6 separate regions of the Homo sapiens genome follow, and all the other regions are linked to region 1. The links are contacts of gene promoters, found by promoter capture Hi-C in human tissues and cell types (Jung and others, 2019). All regions are on one chromosome and are shown on one strand. The core of a region is centred on a gene start or on the middle of the fragment in contact, and the rest is flanking DNA. Distances in the headings are between cores, read along the strand shown.

Evidence for each region. The method cuts DNA at HindIII sites, captures the fragments that hold promoters and counts their contacts. A contact is called where the count stands out against the background at its distance.
Region 2: the fragment with the promoter of ARL2BP here is called in contact with the fragment with the promoter of KATNB1 in region 1 in 1 of the 25 tissues and cell types used here (hippocampus).
Region 3: a contact is called between a fragment that was not itself captured here and the fragment with the promoter of KATNB1 in region 1, in 3 of the 25 tissues and cell types used here (dorsolateral prefrontal cortex, mesenchymal stem cells and mesendoderm cells).
Region 4: a fragment that was not itself captured here is called in contact with the fragment with the promoter of KATNB1 in region 1 in 1 of the 25 tissues and cell types used here (lymphoblastoid cells).
Region 5: a fragment that was not itself captured here is called in contact with the fragment with the promoter of KATNB1 in region 1 in 1 of the 25 tissues and cell types used here (heart left ventricle).
Region 6: a contact is called between a fragment that was not itself captured here and the fragment with the promoter of KATNB1 in region 1, in 5 of the 25 tissues and cell types used here (adrenal gland, dorsolateral prefrontal cortex, hippocampus and 2 more).

Annotation. Positions count from the first base shown.
Region 1 is chr16:57,733,919-57,737,432 of GRCh38, reverse strand. KATNB1 (katanin regulatory subunit B1) reads right to left here and starts at 1,663. Exons shown (of 20, transcript NM_005886.3): 1 at 1,578-1,663; 2 at 150-455. The coding sequence starts at 189. LOC107984852 (a long non-coding RNA gene) reads left to right here and starts at 789. Exons shown (of 2, transcript XR_001752221.3): 1 at 789-997; 2 at 1,826-3,514. RefSeq lists enhancers at 468-537, 1,906-2,075, 1,822-2,116, 2,096-2,205, 2,835-3,514 and a silencer at 1,356-1,595. The HindIII fragment of the contact is 17,781 bases long and covers 1-3,514 here.
Region 2 is chr16:57,243,718-57,247,231 of GRCh38, reverse strand. ARL2BP (ARF like GTPase 2 binding protein) reads right to left here and starts at 1,973. Exons shown (of 6, transcript NM_012106.4): 1 at 1,827-1,973; 2 at 1,091-1,152. The coding sequence starts at 1,864. It overlaps LOC124903697 (a long non-coding RNA gene), which reads left to right. Exons shown (of 2, transcript XR_007065082.1): 2 at 1-1,417. RefSeq lists silencers at 1,575-1,784, 1,875-2,254. The HindIII fragment of the contact is 10,161 bases long and covers 719-3,514 here.
Region 3 is chr16:58,115,123-58,118,636 of GRCh38, reverse strand. It overlaps CFAP20 (cilia and flagella associated protein 20), which reads left to right. Exons shown (of 6, transcript NM_013242.3): 2 at 1,686-1,765; 3 at 2,485-2,596; 4 at 3,180-3,368. Among named protein-coding and RNA genes, the nearest start is that of CFAP20, 13 kb to the left of the region's middle. The HindIII fragment of the contact is 4,657 bases long and covers 1-3,514 here.
Region 4 is chr16:58,098,418-58,101,931 of GRCh38, reverse strand. No RefSeq gene overlaps it. Among named protein-coding and RNA genes, the nearest start is that of CFAP20, 29 kb to the left of the region's middle. RefSeq lists enhancers at 2,925-3,425, 3,426-3,514. The HindIII fragment of the contact is 6,305 bases long and covers 1-3,514 here.
Region 5 is chr16:57,432,075-57,435,588 of GRCh38, reverse strand. It overlaps CIAPIN1 (cytokine induced apoptosis inhibitor 1), which reads left to right. Exons shown (of 9, transcript NM_020313.4): 5 at 1,377-1,545; 6 at 3,029-3,102. Among named protein-coding and RNA genes, the nearest start is that of CIAPIN1, 14 kb to the left of the region's middle. The HindIII fragment of the contact is 7,381 bases long and covers 1-3,514 here.
Region 6 is chr16:57,453,054-57,456,285 of GRCh38, reverse strand. The region is part of intron 3 of COQ9 (coenzyme Q9); the gene reads right to left. Among named protein-coding and RNA genes, the nearest start is that of COQ9, 7.2 kb to the right of the region's middle. The HindIII fragment of the contact is 7,285 bases long and covers 1-3,232 here.

The DNA of each region.
Region 1 (3,514 bases), core at 414-2,913:
CATGATTTACATAATGGTCTATCTTACTCCCAAGTCTAGGAGTCTCCTCCTGTGCCAAGAACAGGAAACAAAGCTGTGGGTTCAGGCCTCCCAGCAACAAGCCGCTAACAGAATAAATGGGGTGATAAAGAAAAATGAAAACCACTCACGCAACTTCCAGGCTGTCTTGGTGACCACAGGGGTGGCCATCCTTCAGCTGGCTGGCACCTGAAGCCCCACCCACAAAATAAACTGTGCTTTCCTCGTGGGGTGGGGGTGGATCCCCCCCCAGATCCACCAATCAAGTTGGCAGAGAGTTCCCACACATCCAGGCAGACAGAATGCCTCGTCTTCTGGCCCTGGGGTGCCTCGTGGTTCCAAATTACCCACAGCAGCAACAGCAGCAGCCTGTGCACATCTGTCACGATCCTGGATCATGGAATGTTAGGCTCGAGCCATCTCAGCTCAATACAGGGCTGCAATACAAACAAGAGGTGACGTCATGTTAGAAAATGCTTGGTAAGAGCTGTTGCTCCCTGGATCACCAAGACCACTTGATAAAGACTGACACCCACCAAAGCCACCAGAGTCAGAAGCTGCACTGCAAATTAGGTTTGGGAATCTGCAGAGGGGGCACCTCAGGTAGGGTGATTTGGAACGTAAGGAAAAAGAAACTCCTCCCAGAGGCCAGGATAATGAGCTGCAGCTCTGTTCCGGGATGCTGGCTGCCTAAAGTGCAGCAGCCGCAGTGGGGCGGAGAAGACCACGTGTCTGCAATTCACATAGATTTCCTGCGAGTCGTTGTTTTTGTCTGACGTGTGGGATGTGGGAGAGCGGAGTCAGAAGCTAAGCTTAGGGGCCTAGGAAAGGCATCCCAGAGACGGCCACTGAAGTCCTCCTTGGAAAGAATCTCGAAGACGACCCTGATGGTCCAATTCCCCAGCTCCTGGCAAGGGAACCGCTCCTGCTCCCTGCGATTCCCAAGGACAGAGCTAGGAACTAGGCCTCCAGTCTGGGCGTAAGTGGCTATGACTCTTCAACTCTAAAAGGCCTCCTCATGGAGCCTCCCACCTCCTTCCCACAGCCACTTCACCTCTTTCCCATGAGCCCGCTCCCCTCCGTCCCCTTTCTCCTGGGTCCCCGGGTCTGCCTCTCTAGTCCTCCGTTCACACCCCCTTTTCTCCCTGCCCCCTGAGTCTCCCACTTATGCACATCCTGTCTCCCGATATCCCTCACGTGGCCCCTGCCTCGCCAGACTCCCGTTACTGCCCTTTCCCATATGCTCGCGGGGTCTCCCATTCATTCATTCTCCTACTTCTCTTCTCCCTATTCATTACCTGTCCTTCTGCAGACCCCCAGCTCTGCTTCCGGCCTCCCTGGTTTTGCCCCCTCCGGCCTCCACCCCGACCCCTCTCGTCCGGGGGCGGGGGCAGGTCCCTCGGCCACGGCTGATCCTCCCAACCCTCTGCTTGCGGAGTACGGGCTCTAGCCTCCCCACGCTCAGAGCTCTCTGCCCGCAAGCCCAGCCAGCCCCGCCTGGCTCGGCCCAGCCCAGGGCCCACCGTCCCCTCGCCACCTCGTCCCCTTGCCCACTCCACCTGCAGCTGCGGCTCCGGAGGCCGAGGCTCCGCTCCAGGCGCGACCCCCACTTGCCTCCATCCCCTGCCTTGATTGGCCGCTGCTTGACAACCGACCCTCACAACAAAACCTCCGGCTCAGAGCCCCGCCCACCTTGCCTCCCGCACCAATCAGCTGCCGCGGGTGCTCCGCCTCCTGCCAGGACTGACCAATGGAAGCAGGCGCTTCTGCCGCTTTTCCTCAGTACCCGCCCTCTTTTCCTAAATAGGACTAATCAAGAGGAAGGAACGTTCAAGAGCCGCCCCTTGGCCTCTAATAAACCAATGCAAGCTGCCGTTTCCTTAGTCCCGCCTCCGTCTCAAGTTTTCCCTTTCCTCTCCGTTTCCTCCCTCGAACCTAATTTGTGTCTGAAAACTTTTGAGAGCCGCCCTCCAATGGCGGCTGCGCCAATGGCTTGAGCAACCGTCCTGGATTGACCAATCAGCGTCCGCATTATTGGAAAACTCAATTCCCAGATAGCCAATGGGAAAGGAACTTCGGGGGCAGTGTGAAGCCTCAGGCCTTCCATCTTGGAGTGGGGCAAAACCTAAGGAGGCCTTAGTCGGCATTTTGCCGAAGCTCCTCATTCTTCACTTTGCCTGCAGATGGTCCCCCGTGGCAGGAGGACTTTGTCCCTGTTCTTTGACCCGGACGCCGGCTTGAATCCCCCATGGGAGGTCTAGAAGGAAACAGCCTGATTCCGGAGCCGAGGCAGGCGCTGAACCCTGTAGCACTGCACACGCAGCCACCGCCTCGACTAATGGATGCGTGGGCAAGGGGCTGCTCCCTGAATGGCTGCAATCAGGGAATCGGAGAAAGGCCAGCTTTATTTGTGACACGTTGGGCGGGGTGGGCTCTGGGAAGCGCCGTAACCCTTCTCGACTCAGGGCCTCTCGCGTGGCCGCTTAGGAGGGACTTGGCCCCGCAGCCGCCTCTCCCTGTTGCCCAGAGGTTGTCCCAGGCACCCAGAGCCCCTCGAACCTTGCCCTTCGGCCTCCAGCCTCTCACCGCAGGTCAGGGCTCCTTGGGCTCACATAACGCCCAGTACAACCATAAGAGGTAGGAATTCCTGTTCCCATTTACAGATGAGGAAACTGAGGCCCGGGTTAAGATGCTTGCAGAAAACCACACGGTCAGAAAGTAATAGCCCCAGAATTCGAACCCTTGTTCTGAAAGCCAAAGCGTGGGGGAGTCCCCACTCTGCCTTCTGCTTCAGCCTTCTGCTTCAGATTCTCCTGCTTCAGCCTCCTGGGTAGCTGGAACCACAGGCGCCCGCCACCACGACGGGCTAAGGCTAGTTTTTATATTTTTAGTAGAGACGGGGTTTCTCCATTTTGGCCAGGCTGGTCTTGAACTCCTGACCTTAGGTGATCCACCCGCCCCAGCCTCCCGAAGTGCTGGGATTACAGGCGTGAGTCACCGCAAGACACCTTTAAAAGATTAGCAGAATAACATCGGATCAAAACTGTCTAGCCTGCAGTTCCCCTTAATTTTGTATTATAAAAAGAAAACTAAACAGAGAAAACTTTAAAAGACAATATAATGATACCACGTAGATTCCAGTACTTGTTAACAGTTTGCCATATTTGCTTCGTCTGTGTGTCTTTTCGGAACCATTTGAAAATTGTAGATATGACATTTCACCCCAACACCAAATACTGAGCATGTATCTCTTAAAAATAAGGCCCTTGGCCAGGCGCGGTGGCTCACGCCTGCAATCCCAGCACTTTGGGAGGCCAAGGCGGGCGGATCACCTGAGGTCAGGAGTCCGAGACCAACCTGGCCAACATGGTGAAACCCCGTCTCTACAAAAAAATACAAAAATTAGCCGGGCGTGGTGGCGCACGTGCCTATAATCCTAGCTACTGGGGAGGCTGAGGCAGGAGAATCACTTGAAACTGGGAAGCAGAGGTTGCGG
Region 2 (3,514 bases), core at 724-3,223, 490 kb after region 1:
GAAATCCCCAAGTCCACATGGGAAACGAGCTTAATGATGAAACATCTATATTCAGGAGTTAAGGGCATGAACCTTTATACCTGAAGGTATAAAAACTTGGTCAGTAATTTTCATTCTAAATGGATTAAGCCATACAGCCAATAACACCAAATAACAGTGTTCTTTTCTCAATTCTCATAAAACTTAAAGTCAACAGAATTTTCTCAAATGTAAGTTTTCCCCTCCTACATACTTGTCTTAAACCTCTGGGGACTGTTACTGCTTCTCTGTTACTTAGCAGGTTTCATGGATGCCCAAATACATCCACAAGTAGGAACTCAAAACCTAGGAAAATACAGAACCAGCTGAAGCTTAATACCTTGTTTTCTTTATGGCCATGTGTGCTTATGGTTATGGTTTTATGTGTTTATTTTCATTTTTATTTTTTCCAGACGGAGTCTCGCTCTGTCGCCCAGGCTGGAGTGAAGTGGCACGATCTCGGATCACTGCAAGCTCCACCTCCCAGGTTCACGCCATTTTCCTGCCTCAGCCTCCTGAGTAGCTGGGACTACAGGCGCCCGCTACCACGCCCGGCTAATTTTTTTTGTATTTTTAGTAGAGACAGGGTTTCACCGTGTTAGCCAGGATGGTCTTGATCTCCTGACCTCGTGATCCGCCCACCTCGGCCTCCCAAAGTGCTGGGATTACAGGCGTTAGCCACCGCACCTGGCCTGGTTTTATGTGTTTTATGGCATGAAAATGTTAAAACTCAAAACTATCTAAAATTGAAATTGCTCTTACCCTACATAAGAAATAGAGTAGATCATTATTTCCTATAGTTTTGCGAAGAACGCCACACTGCTGGTGCCCTATTAGCCTGAGTCAGTCCCTTCCAGCCTCTGAATCTATGCTTATTAGATGTTTTCAGGAGTACTGGGCTGTTTGTTTCTAAGACAAACTGCAGTAAGCCTTTACTTAAGTATTACATTGTGCTACATTAAAAATTGCAGGCAGCTTGATGTTTTCTCTTTTTAAAATTAACTCTCCAAATTGATTTCAATGTCCTTAAAGAAACAAGCAAGTCCTTAAAAACAGTATCTTAAAAGCTTACCCATGATAATGTCCTCTAAATATCCAACCACAGCATCAAATTCTGCATCAGAGGCGGAGGAGCTGAAAAACATGCCTGGATTAGGTGCTATTTCAAATAATGCATTAAAAAAATGTTTTTAGTATGGACGTTTTCAAACATGCACAAGAGAAAAAAGAGTAGCAAAACGAACTTCCCATCACCCATCTTCAACGATTAAGAATGACTGACTGATCTAGTAAGTCCAAACAGAAGAAAACACACTCGGCACGTTTGTGACATGAACGTTCAATGTCATGACTCCACTTTAATAAAAACTTGTTCTCCAGGCTCTTAGCTATCACCCCATACCTGTCTGCTTGTGAGCATGAACCCGGCACGGGCGAAACACCTGCCGGGGGGGGTCATTTGGTCAGGAGTCCGGGAGGCGGGGGCCAGGGAGGGGTGGAGGGGCCTCGGGCGCTCAACCCCTCCAGGCTTTGCTGACAGCTGAGGGTTGGCGGCTGGGGATTGTGATGGAGGCGCTGATCAACGGTGACACCCGCCTCGCACTCCTGTCCTGCGGGGCCTGAAACCTGCAGCCTTAGTACTCTACAAAAGGAAGGCCTGGAGCTGGGACGGCGCCTTGGCGGCCCCCACCCTGCCCGGCCCGGCCCGGCCCGGCCCCTAAGGACACCTGTTTTATAGGGTCAGGCCCCGGGGCGAACGCCCGCTGCCTCCGGCCCCAAGTCGCCTGCGCCCTGGAGGAGCTACTCACAAAGACAGCGCAAAGCTCTCTCCTTCTAAGGCGTCCATCGCAGTCGCCCCGAGTAGGCTCCAACCCCGCCCGCGGCCCAACTCGCATGCAGGGCGCGGCCGCCCGGCGGGGTTAAGGCCTCTCAGCCAAGGCCGCGGCCAGCTCACTGCCAGGTCGGGTCAGCGCCTGCGCGCCAGGTCCGGCCTTGGATACCCTCTGCCGCCACGCGTCGGTCCGGCCTCTACGCCCGCCTGGCCCTCTGCGCGCGCCGCCGACGCCGCAGGTCCGGGCCTCGGTGACTGCCGGAGGGGCGCGGCGCCCCGCCTCCTGTCACCATGGCCACCGCAACCCCTTCCACCGCCTCACGGCCGGCCGGCATCCAATCACAGGCGAGCGTTACCGATGCCGGGGCGGGGCAAGACAGGGAGAGGAAGTCCCGGAAGGGAGTGCGGAGGGATGCGGCGCTTCGGCGAGCACCCGTTGTGTGGGAACTCCGTCTCAAGTCGCCCCCATTGTACGGATGAAGGAATCGAAGCCACGAGCCAGAATTTCCTCACTCGCAACTCGAGAATAAATTGCGCCTCCCTGAGTGTGGAGGATTAAATAAGTAGTTTAAGGCGTGTTTAAAGAGCGCTTGTAAGTTGCCAAGTCGCTGGAGAGCCAGTCCCTTATCCCTTGAACCAGGTGATGCTGACGTCTGATTTCAAGACAGTTCCTACCCCTCGTGGAAGGAAAGCCCCATCGCAAGAAGTCGATGTCCTGTAATTTACGTTATAATCTTCGCATCATAAAGATTACTCGGCAGTAATTGGTTTCTTGACTAATTATACAAGATGAGAATTGAAGAACTATTTTGAGCCACGCAATCAGGAATCAGATACCTTTCAGGAAAAGGCCTCTTCAAAACTGCCAAACTTTGAAAAAGGATTCGTTTGAGCTGATTTCTCTTGATTGGACAACTAAGCATTGTGTCTCTTTAGTTGCATGATACCTTATGGCCAAAGTGTGGTATATGACTAGAGGAACTAGAGGGGTTTAAGGTATGAACTGAGGGTCAGGTGGCCAGTCAGAATGGGTTAGCAGACATTTTTTATTTTTTTGAGACGGAGTCTTGCTCTGTCGCCCAGGCTGGAGGGCAGTGGCACGATCTCGGCTGGCTACAACTTCCGCCTCCCAGGTTCAAGCGATTCTCGTGCCTCAGCCTCCCGAGTAGCTAGGATTACAAGTACGTGCCACTATGCCCGGCTATTTTTGAATTTTTAGTAGAGACAGGGTTTCACCATGTTGGCCAGGCTGGTCTCGAACTCCTGACCTCAGATGATCCACCTACCTTGGCCTCCAAAAGGGCTAGGATTACAGGTGTGAGCCACCACAACCGGCCTAGCAGACATCTTTGAATGGACTTAAAATAGATATCCGTGGGATCTGAAACAAAGATGGTTACAAAGACACAGTCGGGTGTGACAGCTGTGACCAAGGTGACATAAATTATTACTAATTTATTTATTTATTGAGATGGAGTTTCGCTCTTACTGCCCGGGCTAGAGTGCAATGGTGCAATCTCGGCTCAACACAACCTCCGCCTACCGGTTTCAAGCGATTCTCCTGCCTCAGCCTCCCGCGTAGCTAGGATTACAGTCATGCGCCACCATGCCTAATTTTTTTGTGTTTTTAGTAGAGATGGGGTTTCTCTATGTTGGTCAGGCTGG
Region 3 (3,514 bases), core at 341-2,840, 380 kb before region 1:
ACTGGTCTTGAACTCCTGAGCTCAAGCAGTTCTCTCGCCTCGGCCTCCCAAAGTGCTGGGATTACAAGCGTGAACCACCATGCCTGACCCCAGCCATGTTTTTTTGGTTTTGTTTTTTTTTTTTCGTTTTTTGTTTTGTTTTTTTTGAGATAGGGTCTTGCTCTGTCACCTACTCCTCTAGGCTGGAGTGCAGTGGCACAAACACAGCTCACTGCAGCCTGGACCTCCTGAGCTCAAGTGATCCTCCCACCTTAGCCTCCCAAGTAGTTGGGACTATAGGCACACTACAGGTGCACGCCACCACACCTGGCTAATTTTTTGTAGAAACAATGTCTTACTATGTTGCCCAAGCTGATCTTGAACTCCTGAGCTCAAGCTATCCTCCTGCCTTGGCCTCCCAAAGTGCTGGGATTACAGGCATGAGCCACTGTGCCTGGCCCCAGCCCTGTTTTGAAAGTGCCTTTGCATATCTCTGTTCTGTCCATATTAGTTGCTTAAAAGTTTAATGCTTGAAGATAATTGTTCTTTCCTAAATATTTTGAGAGGAGGAATCTGTATTGAATATTGATTCCTCCCCATCATCTACCTCCTACATATGCAGCAAACAATACAAAACAATGTAGGATGAGGTGCTAAATTATGTCGTCTAGACAACATGAGCCAGAAAAACAAATCAGAGAAAAGAGAGGTCAGTGTGGGCTGAAAATGCTAAAGAAGGCATCTGTGTGTGGCACAGATGGGAATTGAATTCCTGCTTTAAAAAGTAGAAAATTAGGCAAAAGCAGATAGGGAAGCATGAAGCAGGATAACTCCAGGGGAGGAATGCTTTCACTTTTTGTTGCTGCCCTCCTCAGTAACACTCAGCTTTTCTTTGGCTTTTCTGGCCAAAGAAATATACAAGGCAGGACGGGCGCAGTGGCCCATGCCTGTAATTCCAGCACTTTGGGAGGCCAAGGCAGGTGGATCACAAGGTCAGGAGTTCGAGACCAGCCTGGCCAACATGGTGAAACCCCGTCTCTACTAAAGATACAAAAAAAAAAATCGGCTGGGCATGGTGCTGCACGCTTATAATCCCAGCTACTCAGGAGGCTGAGGCAAGAGAATCGCTTGAACCTGGAAGGCAGAGGTTGCGGTGAGCCAAGATCGCGCCATTGCACTCCAGCCTGGGCGACAGGGCGAGACTCCGTCTCAGAAAAAAGAAAAAAGAAAGAGAAAGAAAGAAATCTACGAGGCAGTATGAGGCAGTGGAAAGGCTGCTGAATCCTTAGTCTCCTACTTAGGGTTTGGCATTTGCAGTTCCGGGGTGCCAATGTCCACATTTGTAAAATGAAAACAGTATCACCTGCCTTGTTGTTTTTATTGTGTGAGGCTTAAGTGAGAAGGGGATGTGTGTGATATTCCTGGTGCATAGTAGGCATTCAGTAGATATTAGCTGAATCTAAATTGAGTTGATGTATTTGGGGAGAAGTTTCCCCAGATTTAGGGATTGCCAAGTTACCTGGGATTCCCTTGGTGGTTGGTGTGACCCTGTCTAGAGGTAATAGCTTGGCTTACTTACATATAAGCTTCAGTGTGCTGTGTCACAAATTTCTTTGTACGCCTCTTGGGCTACCGTGGTTTTCTTTAAATAGTCCTATTCAGCCTTGTCAGATATTTCAGTACTAATCGAATTTTCTTTCTTGTAGGTACGGAATGGCCACATCAAAAGAATCACTGATAATGACATCCAGTCCCTGGTGCTAGAGATTGAAGGGACAAATGTAAGGTAGGTTGCCACCTCTGTTCTCCCAGAGACATCATATACTAGGGAGGCAGTACGTCATAGAGGTTAATAGCACAGACTGCGGAGTCAGAGTGCCGGATGTGAGTCTATCTCTGCCACTTAGAGCTTACCATGGGCAAGTTACTGAATCCCCCAGACCTTAGCATACTCATCTGTACAATGGGCAGAATAATAGTACATTTTCCTTATAGGGTTATTGCGAGGAGTAAATAAATGAATATATATAAAACACGTAAAGCCTTGCTTAGCACATAGTAAGCACGATGTCAGTATTAGCTATATTATTAACCAAAGTGTGTGTTGGGGTGGGGAGTGGGCAGTGTTGTACAGCTCATCCAGTGGGTGGACAGTGTGGTTTTCAGTGCCATAGAGGTCTCAGTTTTGGTTTTCTGTCATTCGATGGCTCCCCTGGACCAGAATTGAGGTCTTCTCTCACTGGAGGAGCTTCTAAGATCCACTGTCTGGCTTTGTTTTTCAGATATTTTATTGCTGCTGTCTAGTCCTGTGTTAAGCTTTTGTTTCTGGGTCCAGCGTTTGTTAAAGCAGCCGCTGACTTAGGGCTGAGGGATTCACTGGGTGGCGTGTCTGAATCTTTTAGATCTGCTTTCCAGTGTATCCTCTTGGACCGTGTGTTATTGTTGTGCATACCACAAAGGAAGAGAGTCCAGGAGTGTGTTTATTAGTATTTCCTCTCTCTACAGCACCACATATATCACATGCCCTGCAGACCCCAAGAAGACGCTGGGAATTAAACTTCCTTTCCTTGTCATGATTATCAAAAACCTGAAGAAGTATTTTACCTTCGAAGTGCAGGTAAGTATGTGTACATGAATGTGTCCACTCTTGGCTATACCAAAGTGATAGCCTTTGAACTGATGGGAAAAAGTGACCCTACAAAGTATCTTTATCCTTTTGCATGTATTCTTTTCTGCTTCTAGTATAAGCCCAGTGCAGTCCTTGTTATGTAAATTTGATATTAGTAATAAAATTTAATCAGGTTTTTAAAGAAACAGCACCTAGAAAACCTAGTAATTTCAAAGTGTCAGAGTTAGCGTGGTATCCATTTGGGGAGTGATTATTTAATAGTGGGTGGCTGTTCTGTTTTAGTATTTCTGATTTTTCAAAAGGAAGAACATTTATATACTCTATGGTCTGAGAGCCTGCTGACTGTGTTATATGTCATAAGCAGCTGGTGTTGTCTTGGCAACAAACAAGATAAACTTGCTACTTCCGGGCCATCTGCATGCAGTGTATGACCTGTGTCTGGTCTGTTTATTTTCCTCTAAGTCTCAGCCTTGGGAAAGCAAGCTGTGGGAATTCAGGTCCTTGTCTGGACAAGGTTGTGTGCTTCTTCCAAGACAGAGCTAGTGTGATGCTTCTTCTCTGTATTTCACAGGTACTAGATGACAAGAATGTGCGTCGTCGCTTTCGGGCAAGTAACTACCAGAGCACCACCCGGGTCAAACCCTTCATCTGCACCATGCCCATGCGGCTGGATGACGGCTGGAACCAGATTCAGTTCAACTTGCTAGACTTCACACGGCGAGCATACGGCACCAATTACATCGAGACCCTCAGAGTGCAGGTACTGCTCCTTTCCCAGATAGAGCCCTGGGTTGGGGATAGGGCACACTGCGTCTAATATTGGCTTGTGGCCCACATAGCAGAACAGTGTGGGTTTCTGGCTTCAGTTGCCACACTGTCCAGGGAGCTTTGGCCTCACAAAGGTCC
Region 4 (3,514 bases), core at 574-3,073, 360 kb before region 1:
AAGTCTGGCTACCTTAGACTTACCCTAGAGATCATGTCAGGAGACCACAGGGAGAGGCATGTGGAGAAGAAGAGGGAGGCCCGGCTTCAGCTATCTGTGAACACAGGTACACGGGTGGTCATCAGCCAGCCCAGCAGAAGGACTGCCCAGAGAGTTCAGCCAAAAGGGAACTGGGCATGGTGGCTCACGACTGTAATCCCAGCACTTTGGGAGGCCGAGGCGGGTGGATCACTTGAGATCAGGAGTTTGAGACCAGCCTGGCCAACATGATAAAACTTCATCACTATTAATAAATATATATATACAAAAATTAGCTGGGCGTGGTGGTGCACGTCTGTAATCCCAGCTACTCAGGAGGCTGAGGCAGGAGAATCACTTGAACCTGGGTGGCAGAGGTTTACAGTGAGCCGAGATTGCACCACTGCACTCCAGCCTGGGTGACAGAGTGAGACTCCGTCTCAAAAAAATAAAACAACAACAACAACAAAAAAAAAAAAAAAAACAAGGCCAGGTGTTGTGGCTCACACCTGTAATCCCAGCACTTTGGGGAGGCCGAGGTGGGCAGATCACCTGAGGTCAGGAGATTGAGACCAGCGCCAACATGATGAAACCCTGTCTCTACTAAAAATACAAAAATTAGCTGGGCATGGTGGCATGCGCCTGTAATCCCAGCTACTTGGGAGGCTGAGACAGGACAATTGCTTGAATCTCGGAGGCGGAGATTGCAGTGAGCCGAGATTGTGCCACTGCACTCCAGCCTGGGCAACAAGAGTGAAACTCTGTTTCAAAAAAAAGGGAAGAATTGGGAGCAAATACGATGGTGGTGGTTTCAAGCCATGAAGTTTCAGGTGCTTCCTCAGAGAGCAGCTGATTACAAAAACCTGAGTGGCTCAGGTCCTAGAGGAGCACCCAGTCCCCTCGTCTCAGTACCTGCCCCTTCTCCTCAGACCCCAAGTGTCCTTGAGCAAGGAGAGGAAAAGATGCATTAAAGGACAGTCTGGAGAAAGCAGGTAATATTTATTCATTTATTAATGTGTATCTCATTTCAGTTCCTAAAAGGATATGAGGTTTACCAAAAGTGCATATAATGTGAAGTTTTCCTTTTTTAGAGACAGGGTCTTGCTCTGTCACCCAGGCTAGAGTGCAGTGGCACGATCACAGCTCACTGCAGCCTCAACCTCCTAGGCTCAAGCGATCCTCCCACCTCAACTTCCTGAGTAGCTGGGACTACAGGCATGCACCACCATACTCGGCCAAGTTTTTTAAATTTTTTTTTGTAGAGATGAGGTCTTGCTCTGTTGACCAGGTTTGTCTTGAACTCCTGGCCTCAAGCAACCCTCCCACCTCACCCTCCTAAAGGGCTTTGATTATAGGCAGGAGACACGTCGCCCAGCCGATGTTTTCTTAAAGCTAGAAGGATGAGGGGGAGGAAAAAGGCTCAGTAAAGGCAGGAAGGTCAAGGACTACCTGCCAGGTGGAGGTCTGTTTTGATGCCACCTCTCTTCATATGTGCTCGGGAGGTGGCCTGAAAATGTGGCCCTGAAAACCCTTGTGACCCGGAGGGAGAAAGTGATCAAGCTTTCCCAGGAAAGGGACAGGGGTGTCATCCTCACCCAGGGAAGTGTTCCCCTCTAGAAATACAGTTAGAGAGAGTGTGGGGGTGGGTGAACTGTGTGATTCTGGACTTTGGGTGGTGGTGTGGAGGAAGGCTTTGTGGAGGAAGGACTAGGAGGTGTGGCACCAGGCTGTGGGGGGAAGGAGAACCAAGTGGAGCGAATCAAGAGGCCCAGGCTCGGGACAGCCAGCTTTTGGGTAAGCAGGAGCACGTGGTTCCCTCCCATCGATTTCCAGGCTGCAGCCCCAGGCTTGGAGGCAGGCGGGTTCCAGCCACACGTGGGCCAGGCTGGGGTGCTAGGGTAGGGGAGGCTGCACCCTCCAGATCCCCTCTTTCACCTTCTCCAGCTCCAGGGGGAGAGGAACTTTTTCCAGAAGACAGGGCAGCCCTAGACACAGGCTCCTCACCCCACGTCGCTGCCACCTGCTCCAGCTCCGTGGGCTTGGGGCTGTGGGTGGGGGGTTCTCTCCTTCCATCCCCAGCTCTAATCCCTTGCAGCTGTTGTCCTTCTGGGGAAGACAGTTGTGTCAGAGTGGAGGGGAGTAGTTATTTTGAGTTGATCACTAGCTTCCAACTGGGACACATGGATGGCCTTGTCGGGCCCAGCAGTGGGGTGAGCCTGACGAGGGCAGCCCACATGGCCACAGGGGTTGCTGGGGAGCAGGAGGCCACCCTGGCTGCAATGGGGGCTGCAGAGGATAGAGACGGGCCAGGGAGGCCAGAGGCCAGAGGTGTGAAATGTCGGAAATAGATCTGGTGTCCTGAGCATGGGATGGTAAAGTGGGCACAGCTCCCCGCACTGGCCCCTGTGCCACTGGCAACAGTGGAGAAGGAAAAGAGGTCCCTGAGACTGAGGCTGGGCTGCTGGGGGAGGGTAGTGTCTCTCCTCGTAAGGGGCTGGCTAGGCAAGGGTGGTGATTGTCCCCCTCTTCCAGGCAGGCCCTGCCCAACACCTTCTTCCATCCAGAAGGCAGGCTTAGTGGAGGCCTTACACCTCTGATGGCGCAGGATCATTGCAGGGCAATGAACCAATGGATGTGCCCTTCTGAGTGGGAAAAACCAAGTGGCTCAGTGGCTCAGCCCTTCCCTTCAGGGCGTGATGACTTGGAATAAACCTGGCTCCAGTGCTTACCAACCTGAGCTCTGAGACCTGAGGATGTGACATGAACCTCACTGTGCTTTCCTGTTTCACAGAAATGGGAATAACAGCCACGTGCACCTTCCTAGGGCATGGCGGGGATTCACTGATAGCAGATGGAACAGCCTTGAGGCAGGAGTCAGTCCACAGTGAGTGTTGTCATGGTAACTGTAGTTGTCATTGTCTTAGGGTCCTCATGTGGTCCTTGTGGTTGGCCTCCTTCTTGGGCCCCCAACTGTGTCTCAGCTGCATAGAAGGGTTTTATGGCGAGGAGAGGAGAAATGAAGAAATCTTCACCAGGTGGGAAGACTGAGGCTCCTAGAAACGTGGGGAGGAGAGAAGAGTCTCCATGGACTGTCTGCCCCGGGAGGGCAGGGCCGCATCTGTTTCTTCCCTGCTGGATCCCCTGCCCCCAGGACAGTGCCTGGCACAGGGATGAAAGAATGAGTGGATTTCTGAGTGAATCACCCTGGGGTGTGGACCTGCCCTGGGCTGCTGGCTGAAGACGATTGCATGATGATCTCCTGGGCTGGCCAGTGCCAGGCCACGGCTGTTGGATTCCTCTCTCTGGAATTTGAAGAGGAAAACAGAGATGAAGAAGAGGAGAGCCGCGGGGGCTCTGGAGCAGAAGTGAGAAAGAGTCTGACGAGCAGAGGGTGGAGTAGGCCTGTCCAAGGGGAGGCCACACACAGGGCGAGAGTGGCAGCTCCTGCCCCTCTCAGTCTCCCTTCCAGCTCCCCAGCACCTGGAGTGGCCAGAGG
Region 5 (3,514 bases), core at 576-3,075, 300 kb after region 1:
ACTCCTGACCTCAGGTGATCTACCCACCTTGGCCTTCCAAAGTGCTGGTATTACAGGCGTGAGCCAGGCCTTAGATTCTTTATGCCAGGCCTTAGATTCTTTATGCCAACCCTTTCTTATTTTTCCTTTTAGCTTAAGGTTTTCTGTGCTTGATTTTAAAATAAGGAATGTGTATTAGGCCATTCTTCTGTTCCTATAAAGGAATACCTAAGACTGAATAATTTATAAAGACAAGAGGTTTAATTGGCTCACTGTTCTGCAGACTGTACAGGAAGCACGGGCCTGCAACTGCTTGGCTTCTAGGGAGGCCTCAATGAACTTTTACTCGTGGCAGAAGGTGAAGCAGGAGCAGGCACATCACATGGCAAAAGCAGGATCAAGAAAGAGAGGAAGAGTCGGGGTGGGGAAGGTGCCATACTTTACAACCACCACATCTCATGAGAATTCAGATGGTGCTAAACCATTCATGAGAAATCTGCCCCCATGATCCAGTCACCTCTCACCAGGCCCCACCTCCAACATTGGGGATTACAGTTCAACATGAGATTTAGAGGGGACACATATCCAAACTATATCAGACTCCTCATAAAAATTCACTTTACACCAAAGCATACAGAATATAAAGTGACATCCCACTTCTTGCTCACACTTCCCTCCCCAGAGGAAGCCACCAATGCCTTTTTGTATGTCCGTTCAGACCTTTTCCTATGTATTTACAAGCATCTACATGCACATACTTTTTTAAAAATGTAAATAAGATCATAAGTATACATTGTTCAATCACCTTTTTTCCCACCCTTAGATATCATAGACACTTACCTACTTCAGTGTATTTCCCTTCATTCATATTAATGATGTAATAGTATTCCATACAATAGATGGACTGTGATTTATGTAACCAGTCTATAATTATTGGACATAGAGGTGGCACCCTGACCCTTTTTTTCTACCTTTACTCTCTGCTACTTTATCCCAAGGAACATAGAAAGGATTTTCCTCCCCCTTTTTCTTTTGGGATATAAATTTCTGCTGTCTTCATTGTGGGCATTCTTTCCTGTTACACAGTAGGACCACATCTGGTTCATTTTCATAATTGTATTACATCCCAAATAACTAGTATATGCCTCATCCCTAATGTTTTTTAAGTACTTTTACATTTTCCAAGGGGTAGGCTCCAAGTAAACATGCAGACAAAGGTTATACTCTAGGGTTCTGATCAGTGAGAAACTGAATGTGAGGCATAAAGTGTTATCTGTTACCATCCACTGTTACATCCTTAATGCACAGAAATGAGTCTTTGACTCCTGTGTAGGTAGACATAGTAAACCATTTTACAGAGGAGGGTGAACTAATCCTTTTGATGTCTTGAATTCTAGCTGCAGCGGGAGCCCCTAACCCCTGAGGAAGTACAGTCTGTTCGAGAACACCTTGGTCATGAAAGTGACAACCTGCTGTTTGTTCAGATCACAGGCAAAAAACCAAACTTTGAAGTGGGTTCTTCTAGGCAGCTTAAGCTTTCCATCACCAAGAAGTCTTCTCCTTCAGGTAAGGCTGGCCTAGGGACATTCTTCTGTTTGAATGGGCTTAGAGGGACATGTTAGAAATTGAGCCAGCAATAAATGAGATGGTGATATTTTTAGAGGATTAGTCCTTTGATTTCTGCCATTTCCACAAAGAAGAATACTTAATGTACTATTATCATGGGCATATTAGGATCCAAAACTGAAATAATACATAGGTATTATCTAGTTCAGCTCCTTCTTCTGCACCAGAAGATACCGAGGCCTCCTAATTTTACAGGACTGAGTCACACAGTTTAATTAATGAGGTCCTTCCAGGTCCCAGAATTAACGTTTCTCCTCAGAAGACCTCACAGTGTAGTGGTAATGGTGTATGAGAGTGCCCTGTTCCTGTTCTCATGTGCTTTTTTCCCCATGCCAGGAAAATCAGCTGTTCTTACTTTGAGGATGCTAAGACACTTATAAAACTATATTTCTTCTGACTAGAAAATTGTGTACAAGCACACGCGTGCACGCACGCGCACGCACACACACACACACACACAGCTCCATCCTCATCCTTCCTATCCCTATTTTTAAATGCCTGAATTGACCCAGCTGTGAGGTATGCAGACATTAACAGATATTTACTGGTACATTCCCACTTGTACGGTTTTGACTGTCTAACCTAAATCTTCAAGAAATCCTTTGGAATCTAACCTTTCGATTCATGGTTCCAGAATGGGTAGGAATAGCTTAGAACAGTTGGCCTTGTGGAAGGTATGAGCATCCAGCTGTGACAATGATCACTAGAGGGTACTCTTACCCCAAGGGCCTGCGAGGATTTGCCCACACTGCATCCGAGCCTCAGCTCTCTGCCTCTTCCTTGCATTCTCCTGACTAGACAGAGAACCAGGAAGTGTGAGGTTTGTCTGCCACTGATGGTGTTACCTTGCCACCAGCAGCTCTAGAGCCTATTTTCTTGTATGTAGCAGGTTTACATGAGGCTAAAGCTCTGCTATTTTTGAAGGTTTTGACACATTTCTCATTTAATCCTCAAAACACCTGCAGTAACATAGGAAGTACAATTTAACTTCATGTTATAGAATGGAAACTAAGGTATCGAGGAGGAAGCAATATGGAATGGAGGTTAAAAGCATCAGACAGGCTTTGCAGCCTGTGGAACCAGCCTAAGTGTCTAAACCTGTTTCCTCAGCGGTAAAAGTAGGATGACAGATAGTTACCTCATAAGGTTGTCAGCAGAATTAAGTTAGATAATGTATATAAGTGCTTAATATGGTGCCTGGTGCAAAGCAAGAGCTTAGCAAATGGTGACTTCTGTAACTATCAGCAAGTGGTTGGCCCAAGGTCAGACCTCTCAGAGGGGTAGAGCTGGACTGTGAACCCACATCTTCTGCCTCCCAGGCCAGTGTGTTCTCTTCTACACAGCAGGAAGCATTTATGTATGTTTGTAATTAATAGTTTCTGACTGTGTTTATGGAGTTTTTTCTTTTATTGCTTGGACTCAGTGAAACCTGCTGTGGACCCTGCTGCTGCCAAGCTGTGGACCCTCTCAGCCAACGATATGGAGGACGACAGCATGGTGAGCTGGCAGCATTGTCACTTGATTGCTTTCTTTCAGGCCCCAGTTTGGGTGTGAACAGCTATAGTGACCTTTCTGGACTTGTAGGTGTGAACGTATTTAAAGCCCAGATTTGTGACTATGCCTGTCACATCTTTGATTTAGAAGGAAACTCCATGTTGGTGGCTTTTTTTTTGGAGACAGTCTCGCTCTCTTGCCCAAGCTGGAGTGCAATGGCACAATCTCGGCTTACTGCAATCTCTGCTCCCGGGTTCAAGCGATTCTCATGTTTCAGCCTCCCAAGTAGCTATGATTACAGGCATGTGCCACCACACCTGGCCAATTTTTGCGTTTTTAGCAGAGACGGGGTTTCACCATGTTGGCCAGACTGGTCGCAAAACTCCTGACCTCAAGTGATCTGCCCGCCTCGGCC
Region 6 (3,232 bases), core at 733-3,232, 280 kb after region 1:
CAGAGACTAGCTCAGGGATGAACATATCAACAGGTCTTCTTTCTTTTTTAGAAACTAAGCCTGCAGCTGCTTTCTCCAACTTTGCACCTAACACATCTAAGGCCAGTCCTTCCAACTGTTGTCCAGATCCCACAATTCTTGCCTTCAAGGAACCTCATCCTCTTGATTTTGACTATTTTCTCTTGTAAATTCACCCTCACTCTTGTTTCTTTCTTTTTTCTTTTTACTTTTTTTTTGAGACAGTGTCTTGCTCTGTCACTCAAGCAGTGGCATGACTGAGGCCTTGACCTCCTGGGCTCAAGCAATCGTCCCATCTTAGCCTGGGACCACAGGTATGCGCCACCGCATCTGGCTAATTTTTAAATGTTTTTGTAGAGATGGGGTCTCGCCATATTGCCCAGGTTGGCCTCAAACTCCTAGTGTCAAGCAATCCTCCCGCCTCAGCCTCCCCAAGTGCTGGGATTACACATATGAGCCTGGTCCACTCTTGTTTCTGTACTCTTCCCATTTGTGTTCAATCATGTCCAAACTTCCATCTGTTTCTCCTGCTTGGTGCACCCTAGTTCTACCCCTCGCAGCCAAACGCCTCGCCACTTCCTCGCCTTCTATGCACACCTCGATCCACTCCAGTTGATTTCTGATCCAGTTCTCCACCCAAACGGTTGTTGCCCCAGTAACCAATGTCTAGCTGCTTAATCCACACTCTCCTGCTTTGCCTCCAACATCAGGATGCTCTGACTTAGACTTTGACGGCCCATCCTATTCTACTCTCCCCTTAAATGTCCGCGTTCCTTGAGAGTCTGGACTCCCCTCTCATATGACATTATATTCTTGCCCTGGACAATCTCACTGACTTCCATAATTATTTTATATATATATATATATATAAAATCAGCGTGCATATATATACTGTATATATATATATATATGCCCAAATGTGTATCTCTAGTCCAGCTGTTTCCTCCAGTTCCTGACCTGTATGCTTGATGCCTCCACTGGTTGACTCAAAAACTCCTCATACTCAACAAGGATCAAGACTGTACCCTTCCCCAAAGCTGGTCCTCTTCCAATGGCCTTCACCTTAGAAAACACCACCATTGGGTACCCACACATGCAAACTTGCAACTCTGGTGCCATCCTGTCACTCTCTCCCATGTCCAAGCTATTCCTGAACTTACCCACTGCCATTACTCTAAGCCAGACCACCTCATCTCTCCTGTATGTCTGGCAGCAGCCCCCAATGAGTCTCTCTCTGCCTCCAATCCACTTTTCATCTGGCAGCCAAAATGAGCATTTTGAAATGCCAAATTTAATCCAATATCTTCAATTGTTCTTAGAAGAAAAGCTTGACTCCTCATCATGACCTTTAGGACCTTGCCTGATTTGACCTCGACTGACCTTTCCAGCCTTGCTCATCTCAAATCTCTCTTCCTGCACTCTCTGCATGGTGGTTCTCTGTGGTTCTTCTAACGTACCATCCTTCTTTTTCTTTCCACCTTGCCTGTGCAGTTTCTGTATTTGGACTTGTCCATCTCCTACCCACAAAGTCAGGTAAAGCCTATTCATTCTTCAATTCTCAGCTCAAAAGCCTTTCCTGACCACCCTGTTACCCACCTCATATATGGTTTCAGACAAGGTCTCACTCTGTTGCCCAGGCTGGAGTGCAATGGCATCATTATGGCTCACTGCAGCCTTGACCTACCAGGCTCAAGAGATCCTCCCACCCCAGCCTCCCAGGTAGCTGGGACCACAGGCAAGCACCACCATGCCTGGCTAATTTTTGTATTTTTTGTAGAGATGGGGTCTCTCCCTAGGTTGCCCAGACTGGTCCCAAACTGCTGGGCTCAAGCAATCCCTCTGCCTTGGCCTCCCAAAGTGCTGGGATTATAGGCATGCGCGACTGTGCCCAGCCCTCCAACCCTTTAATAGGACAAATTAGACTATTTGTCATAGTTTAACAGGCAACATGTTTTCTTTTTTTACTGATGTACTTAAAAATGGTGCTTCTTACAACCAATGGCATCTTAGAGTCAATGAAATATGGTAGTTTTGATCACAGACAATTCTTGCCAATAGGTTGCCTTTAGAACACAACTCTCAAGAACCAATTCCATGGTTCATTACTTTTATATCTACAAAATAAAGCCATTTCCACCCTATTGAGGGAAAAAAACCAGTCAATCTCGCAGCTGTGACCTGATCTAATGATCGGGTCCCTCCATTATACAGCCCAACAGCACCTTTCCTTGATAGCACTTACCACATCTTCTAAGTAAACATTTGTATATATTTTATTAATGTTGCTAGACTGGAAGCTCAACAAGGGCAGGAAGCAGATCCATCTTGACCACTTTGACCCCTGTCATGTCTCTTGGACTAGCACAGTGCCTAGGGCACATTATTTGCTCAATAAACATTTAAAGAATGAATCATATAAAGGGTTTTAATTGGAAAGATCTAGGCATAAATGTTGATAGTATGATCTTTGGTGTGATTATAGGTGTTTTCTACATTCTTTTTTATATTTGTTTGTATTGTTCAGTTTTCACAATGAGCCTACAGTGGAGTCAGAGCACCCACATTTCACTAATGAGACTTCTGTTACCAAATGTGCACTTGGGAGTGAGAGAAGACAAGGAAATAACAGTTAAATTTCAGTAAAGCAGCAACCTTGCCCATTGTCCATGGGTAGATGCCCTGCAGCAAGCCTGGGATGGAAGATGCAACTCTGTCATCCCCTCAGTCTCTTGGAGGATGGTATCTTGCTATGCTGGAGGATTCTCTACAACATGGCCTGAACATGAGCCTGCTGCCTAATCTAAAGCAGCAGTCTGTACTAATGCAGAAAATGCTATTAGAGTTTCTGGGAAAATAAGATGTGTTGGTCTCCAAAGTGGTGCCTTCTTGGGGGTTTTCAAACACCATATGTCATTAATTCTAAGATGCAGATATATTTTTCATTTTAAAAAATCAGTGTGAATCACAGAAGTGCTTTGTCATAGTTCGAAGGGCAGTATGTTTTCTTTTTTACTGATGCATTTAAAAATGATGCTTCTTACAACCAATGGCATCTTAGAGTCAATGAAACATGGGAGTTTTGATCACAGACAATTCTTGCCTAATAGATTGCCTTTAGAACACAACTCCCAAGAACCAACTCCATGGTATGTTCTTTATAACTACAAAATAAAGCCAGTTCCACCCTATTGGGGGAAAAAAACCAGTCAATCTT